Linked DNA regions of Homo sapiens: region 2 is linked to region 1. Evidence: promoter capture Hi-C in 16 types of primary human blood cells and fetal thymus (Javierre and others, 2016). All regions are on one chromosome and are shown on one strand. The core of a region is centred on a gene start or on the middle of the fragment in contact, and the rest is flanking DNA. Distances in the headings are between cores, read along the strand shown. Region 1 holds the start of USP3 (ubiquitin specific peptidase 3). Region 2 overlaps CIAO2A (cytosolic iron-sulfur assembly component 2A).

Evidence for each region. Contacts are between HindIII fragments. The CHiCAGO score rates a contact against its expected background, and 5 or more counts as called.
Region 2: a fragment that was not itself captured here is called in contact with the fragment with the promoter of USP3 in region 1 in 14 of 17 cell types (non-activated CD4 T cells, naive CD8 T cells, endothelial precursors and 11 more); the score reaches 11.0 in non-activated CD4 T cells.

The regions. Positions count from the first base shown.
Region 1 is chr15:63,502,058-63,505,842 of GRCh38, forward strand. USP3 (ubiquitin specific peptidase 3) reads left to right here and starts at 2,536. Exons shown (of 15, transcript NM_006537.4): 1 at 2,536-2,773. The coding sequence starts at 2,683. RefSeq lists enhancers at 816-1,609, 1,088-1,137, 1,610-2,402 and silencers at 2,128-2,467, 2,818-2,927, 2,998-3,197, 3,268-3,347. The HindIII fragment of the contact is 11,052 bases long and covers 1-3,785 here.
Region 2 is chr15:64,068,808-64,072,676 of GRCh38, forward strand. CIAO2A (cytosolic iron-sulfur assembly component 2A) reads right to left here. Exons shown (of 5, transcript NM_032231.7): 5 at 3,758-3,869. Among named protein-coding and RNA genes, the nearest start is that of CIAO2A, 23 kb to the right of the region's middle. The HindIII fragment of the contact is 3,006 bases long and covers 679-3,684 here.

The DNA of each region.
Region 1 (3,785 bases), core at 1,286-3,785:
AAATTTAGAGATCATCTCTAGGGGTCAAATATTGGCAAATATTGGGCCACCTGCTAGGCTCTTGCCCATGGTAGACATGGCTAACATACCGCACACTCACCCGTTCATGTCATGTATTCACTTACTTATCAGACATCCTCCATGTTCTACATTGCATGTTAGAAATAAAGCAGAAAACCAGACAGACTTGTTTGCTACCTTATGGACAAACAAGAGGAAGAGAGACATTAAACAAATAATTACACGCATGAAGAGTGTTTTTAGGCCGGGCGCGGTGACTCATGCCCGTAATCCTAGCACTTTGGGAGGCCTAGGCGGGAGGATCTCTTGAGCCCAGGATTTCGAGACCAGCCTGGGCAATATAGGAGACACTGTTTTTTTTTTTGTTTTGTTTTTTGTTTTAAGTGTTTTTAAAAGCCGGTGTTGGGGCAGACAAGGACATCACACACTGGGAGGTACCCTGCGGGTGGGAAAGGGTCGGGAAAGACTCCCTCAGGAAGTGATGTTTAAACTGAAGTCTAGGGGATTAGGAAACGGAGTCTCTGAGAGGGTGAAGAAATATTACATACCAGTATGAAGCATGGCCTGAGTGAGGTCATGCTCCAGGGCCGAACAAGGGGTTATGGATGCTAAGTGGGGGTGGGTGTCCGGAGGAAACAGAAGGTTGGTGGAGCAAGGCCTTAAAGACAAATAGGTTGACATGGAGAGATGGGTGGAAGAACTTGAGCCAAGGGCAGATATTATTGTTTCTCCTCCTCCCGCTTCCCAGGGAAGCAGCTCTCATCTAGTGTCAGTAAAAACAAATACAAAGTTATAATTTATTGGCCACCTAGTATGTGGTGGCAATTTTCATGAATTCTCACATGTTCCTTGCGAGACAAGTATTCTTCTTCCAGTTTTACAGATCTAGAAAAGGCTTGGAACGGCTAGAGACGCTTGCTAAGCCTGGCCGTCAAGTAGGCAGCAGAGCTAAGATTTGAAAGCATGCCGGCCTGCCTTCCTAGGCAGACGCACTTTCCACAACGCATCACTGCCATAAAAATCCCAGGCCGAGGCTTGCTCTAACAGCAAATACCACTTGGAAAAGGACAGATCTTTGAGGACCCAGAAATACTTCTGGGGAAAGGATGAGCAGAGGTGCCCCCGGTGGGTGGATACCATTAGGCAGAGGTCTATGCGGAAGAGGCCGACTTGTGGCGTGGGAGGTAGGGAGGAGTAAGAAGTGATTGACGGGGCGTCCCTGGCTGCTCTAGGACTGCATTGCGGGGAGGTGCCCGGCTCTAACCACTGCCCGGCCCGGTTAATCATTTCCTGACCTTCCTTCCTCCTCTCGCTCTGGCCGCAGGATTGCCACATCAGTCTTCCCCCTCCTCCTGCTCGCCTTCTGGCCCCGAGGCTCCTTCGCCGGGTTTTACAAGGAGCCCCAACTTGGAAGCAATATTTGTAATAGCCCCGGACGTCCTCAAGTGCCCCAGTGAGATCGCAGGCTCGATCCAGGGTATGCCGGCCCAAGCGGCCCCTTGAGGCTTGCCCTCTTCTCTAATCCCTCACTAAAAAGAGGTCAGAGGGTCAGGGATCCAATCTCCATACAGATCAACAAGTTACAGACTCGGTTTCCCCCTGCGGTAAAAAGGGGATGGTAACAGCTGGTAGGGTGTTGCGAGGCTTAAATGCGGTATGGGAAGTGCCTGGCTGGGAGACCTTAGGTATCTAACAAATGCTAGATCCCTTCCCTTCTTATCGCCTGGTAATGGGGAGTTTAGCTTGCCCAGCAATCCCAGGCTACGTTTATCTCACTTGAACTTCCTGGCTTGAAAGTCCTACGATGTGCTGGAGGTAACGCAGATGGTGAGTCACAGTGACAGGATTTGAACGTGGGTTCATGGGCGCCCCTGCGGGCCCACCCACGCAGCATCTAGGTGGCTGGCTAACGCCACGTGTTCAGAACCTAGAAAGGGCTACGGATCGCACCTGCCGCAAGGAGCCTAACGCTAAGTCGGGCGGGACTGCCCTGGCACCCATGAAACCCGCTGCCCGCCTCCCCCGGGGCCAGGCCCTTGGCCTCCCCAGCTTGTTTCTTCGTGTATAAAATGAGGGCCACGGTGCCTGTCTGCCCGAGAGGTTTTAAAGTTCTTCTTTACACTTTGCGGAGCGGCCGGATTTTTACCACGAAGCCACCGAGTAGTCCGCACCACATAGGTTCAGTATCCTCCGCCCACCGCAGGAAACGCCGCGGACGGCCCGGGGTGCCCTGCTCGGCGCCCCACCCTTCCCGGGGCCGGGGAAGCGGCGTGACTAGGAAAGTCACTTCGGAACACAGCCGGACTCTGCGCCACCAGCTGGAGCTCGCCGGGACCCCACCCCGCGGGCTGGGCGGGGGCGGACCCGGGGGCGGGGCGGGGAGGGGCCGGCCTGGAAAGGCGGAAGCCTCCAGTCTAGGGGTGGCTGCAGAACCCGGATCTCGGAGTTACACGTTCTACGGAGCGGGGCGCCGGGAGACGGCGGGCGAGAAAACCCGGCGTCCGGAAGCCCGTGCTTTCTTTGACGCAAGGGCTCGAGACGCAGCCGCCGTCGGCCGAGCGCCCGGCTAGAAGCGACACCAGACGGAGCCTCCGGAGTTCCTCCGCCCCCACCTCGCCGGGTCCTGGAGCCGCAGTCCTCCCAGCTGCCCTCCTCGTGGCCATGGAGTGTCCACACCTGAGCTCCAGCGTCTGCATTGCTCCGGACTCAGCCAAGTTCCCCAACGGCTCCCCGTCGTCCTGGTGCTGCAGCGGTGAGTGCGGCCACGGGCCGGCCCCGCAGCGCACCCGAGGCCGCGGCTCTGCCGGGCCTGCCGTCTAGGGGCCGCAGGCGGCCGGCGCGCGGACTCGGGGAGGGGCGAGGGCGAGCCGGGCCCGGCGGGCTGGGGAGGGTACGCGATGAGGCGGGCGCGTGCGGGAGCGGCGGCGGCTCCTTTGTTTCCCGAGGCCCGACGGCCGGGCCAGCGAAGGAGAGGGCCGCGAGGGGCGGGAGTCCGCGGAGGCCTCGAGCGCGTGGGGGCAGCGGCAGGCGGGGACCCTGGCCAGCTGCGTGCGCCCTTGCCCCGCCCTGCCGTGGCCGGGGGCTGTGCCCGTCCGTGTTGCGGGGTCGCCTGTGGGGCGGGTGTCCGGCCCCCGAGGGGCGGCCGCACGTGTGGCGGGGCCCGCGCCGCGCTTCTCCGCAGACAGGGCGGGAAGAGCGCCGCTCTCCGGGCGCAGCTTTGTCTGGGCTGCGGGGCGCGCGGGGCTCCTCTCCTCCGCCGAACCCGGCCCGGGTTTCCTTTCCCTTCTCCGCAGGCTCGGGCACCTCGAAACCCCGAGAGGCGCTGGGAGCTCGGGCGGCGGAGGTCGGGGTCTTTCATCCGTCAGGGATGGTGAAGTTTGAAAACAGGCTGCGGGCTGAGAAGCTCGGAGGCTGAGCCAACAGCTGCTTTGGAGGGGACTGCTCGAGTTTGTTTTTCAGACCTTTTGGGTTGTCCGAAAATGCGTTGGGATTCCCAGTTCCTGTGTTGTGAAACACTTATTAGATTTATATAAGGCTTTTGAGTAGCTTAAGCGTTTTAACTCCTGCTGGCCCCCTTGGAAGCCCCAGTGCCCTCTCATTGTCTGCTCTAAGCGACTTCTTAGGATCGCACCGGCCACACGGCTTTGCTTACTTCCTGGTAGGGCCCTGGTGCCACCGCTAGTCTTTGTTTATTAGCTTTGAGATGGTCACTGGTATCTTGGGTTATATTAATAGCGTACAATTCGAATTGTGCACTTCAGAAA
Region 2 (3,869 bases), core at 932-3,431, 570 kb after region 1:
GCCTGGGAGATAGAGCCATGATCGTGTCACTGCACTCCAGCCCCGGTGACAGAGTGAGACCATGTCCCAGAAAAAAAAAAAAAAAGAGTATTAACAGTAGTGGTGCATCAGTAATGAGTTTGAACCCCAACAATTCACTGGCTTGTTTTCTACCATGGTATTAACACATGCAGAAAACCACCTGGGATATGAGTGCAATGAGACTTTTATAGCAATCCTACCCCTTCCTAGTAAACTGGCCCCCACTAACTACAGTTAATTGTGTCCTGCTGGACACATCTGCAGTTTTGGTAGCAGTTGCTTCATGGTGGAGCTGGGAAAGCTGCTTTTTTTTTTTCCTTTTTTTCTTCCTTTCTTTTATTTTTTTCTTTATTTTTTGAGACAGCATCTCACTCTGTTGCCAAGGCTGGAGTGCAGTGGCGCAATCTTGGCTCACTGCAACCTCCGCCCCCCAGGTTTAAGCAATTCTCTGCCTCAGCCTCCCGAGTAGCTGGGATTACAGGCACGTGACACCATGTCCAGCTAATTTTTGTATTTTTAGTAGAGATGGGGTTTCACCATCTTGGCCAGGCTGGTCTTGAACTCCTGACCTCGTGATCCACCCGCCTCGGCTCCCAGAGTGCTTGGATTACAGGCGTGAGCCGCTGCACCCAACCTAAGCCACCACGCCCGGCCATAAGCTTCTTATTTGTAACGGTCTAAGAAAGCAGTGGATAAATAATTAGTTGAGCGTGGTAGCTCTCATCTGTAGTCCCAGCTTCTTGGGAGGCTGAGGTGGGACAATTGCTTGAGCCCAGTAGTTTGAGGCTGCAGTGAGCCCTGATGGTGCCTTTTCACTCCAGCAGGGGCGACAGAGAGCGACCCTGTCTCAAAAGCAAAAACAAGAAGGTAGTGGCTCCTACTGGGGCTCAGAAAGCAATAACCCAAAATATGGCTCCTTGGTGTGCTGTGAATTAAAGAAGAATAGAAAGCCTCAGAAGCAGCCTCAAAAGCAAAGACTCTCTCTGACCATATCCTGCCCTGCTGTCTCCTGCCCCTTCCTCCTCCAAAGGGAGTCATAGAAAACAGAATCTGTCTTCCCCAAGGGAGGAAATAGAAACCAGAACCTCTTTTCAAAGCAAGCCATACCAGTCTGGGAAACATGGCAAAGTCCCATCTCTACAAAAAAATACAAAAAAAAATTTAGCTGGGCATGGTGGTATGCACCTGTGGTCCCAGCTACTTGGGAAGTTGGGGTGGGAGGATCACTTGAGCCTGAGAGGTTGAGGCTGCAGTGAGCCATGATTGTGCCACTGCACTCCAGCCTGGGCAACAGAGCAAGACCATCTCAAAAACAAAAACAGTAACAACAACAAAAAGCAAACCACAAAACCTAGAAATATTACTCTAACTTTCCCCCGCCTTTCTGTGCATGAGCTGGCCATAAAGAAATTCTCTGACCTGCCTTATCTAACAGTAGGTCATAAGACTGCCCCATACCCAGGAGGAAGGAATGCTACACAGAAAGGCCAAGAAGAATCTGAAGAGATAGTCCTTGCTGGGTTTCCCCACTTAGTCCATTACCATTAGATCGCACTTTTTGTCCAATCACATTTCTACACAATTGTCCACTCTTCGTCAAACCTAAGCAGAAAAATAAGACAGTTTTCCCTGGGTCTTTGGATTCTTCCTATCTGAAGCCTGCTGTGTCACATAAAACTTGGATTGACCACATTTGTTATGCTTTTCTCTTGTTACCCTGTCTTTTGTCACGGGGGTGTTGGCCATGACCTTTATGATGGGTGAGGAAAGGTATCACACCTTCTGCCCCTATACTCCCAAAGTTGTGAACCCTCAGGGCTCTGGGGGGTTATTAAAGGAGGGGGGAGCCCAGTGCTCAGCTAGCATTACTTGTAAAGCAGAGTTATTAACCCGGGGTCCACTGGCTCCTTAGCAAGTCTGTGAATGTCCTGGAGTCACATGCAGTTTCATGTGAGTGCCTTTTTCTCCCTAGGGAGAGGGCCCATTCCACATCTTTTATCTGATTTTCCAATTGGTCTGACTTTTCAGAAAGGATAATCATTCTTGTAAATCAGGAGTTTGCTAATGGCACACAGGCCAAATCCAGCCCAATGCTGGAATTTTGTACAACCCACAAGCTAAGATGGTTTTTATATTTTTAAACGGTTGAAAAAATTAAAAAGGAAAATATTAATTCATGACACATGAAAATTATATGAAATTCAAATTTGTGTCCATAAAGTTTTCTTGGAGTGCAATCATGCTTATTTGTTTACAGACTATCAGCTGCTTTTGTGCTACAAGGGCAGAGTTGAATAGTTACAACAGAGCATATGGCTTGAAAAGCCTAAAATATTGCCTATGTGGCCCTTTTCCAAAAACGTTTCCTAACCCTTGCCAAACATGGACCAGATAACACTACTTCTGACTATATATGTACCTCTATTTTTCACTTCTATGTAGATACCATTATGATTAATAAAGTTTAAATTCATGTTCTAATATAATTAATGCAGTAGATGTTAGTTTTTTGACCCCTCTCACTCTACTATAGAATTCCCACCATGTGAGTCTTGCTGGGGGGACAGAGTCCACCTCCCCACACCAAAGGTCAGATTTTCTTTTCTCCCGCCTTCTTGGCAGCCAGGACATGGACATGTGACTTGAGATCAGCCGACTAGAGATCTCAGCTAGGACTAGGAAGCTGGAGTGAGTCACACAAAAATGAGAAATCACTCTGGCAGTAGCGGAGACAACAGAAGTCACATCTAGCTTCCAGGAGCAGCAGGGCCAGCAGTTCAGGTGACTCCTGTAGCAATGATCCACTTGGAGTTGCATGTCAGTAGTGTCCTCACCAGACAGTCCCTAAGGCATGGTTTTGTCTTTGGACCTGCTGCCCGGCTTCTGTTTCTACTTGGCCAGGACGAGCTCAGGCAGTAGATAAAACTGAGTCCGAATCACTCACTGCCTGGAGCAGAGAGAAGCTGAAGGTCCAGGCTAATAAGTATGAACTCCAGGAGGACAGACAATGGCTGATGTATCTTTGTGTCCTTGGCACCCAAGACAGTGCCTGGGTCCAGACTTTGGGAGCTAGGCAGTTCTGCATCAGGAGTTCACTCACATGGTTTGCAAATTGCTGCTGGTTGTTGTTGGGAGGCCTCAGCTGCACTCCGTGTGGAATTCTCCACAGGGTGGCTTGAGTTCTCGTGACATAGCAGCTGGATTCCTACAGAATAAGCAATCCAAGAGCCTAAGGTGAAAACAGCAATACCTTTTATGATCTAGCCTCAGAAGTCACCCATTGTCACTCTGCCATTCTTTATTAGCCACACCCATCAGCTCCAATTCAATATGGAAGTTAACTATACAAGGGCATGAATACCAGGAAGTGAGGATCTTGGGGGCCATGTTGGAGGCTACTATACTTCACATGACCATTAACCCCTAAAACAAACCAAATGAAGGACAGATAAAGTGCGGACCATACATTTAGGTTGGTTTAATCAAAACTTCTTTGGTGGACTTCTTGATCTTCAAAATTGTGTATGCCATCTAGCCTTCTCCACATTTGTTCCTTATCTATGAAAGGGTCCAGGACTCTCCTTGGAAGGAAGGAAGGCCCAATCTTAAGGGTTCCTTTTGGTTCTCAGATCTCTGATTCTACAAAATAATCAGCAAAAATAAAGCTTTGAAGATATCCTTTAGGAGTTGACATTTACACTGGAATTTACAATTCAATAAAAACAGTGAGTCATTATAAGAATCATCTGCTTATTTATTTTACAGAGTAATGATTTAAATTGAGTACATTTGGGCACAGTAGATATTTGACACGAAAAATAGTTGTATCAGAATGAGCATCAGAAAAA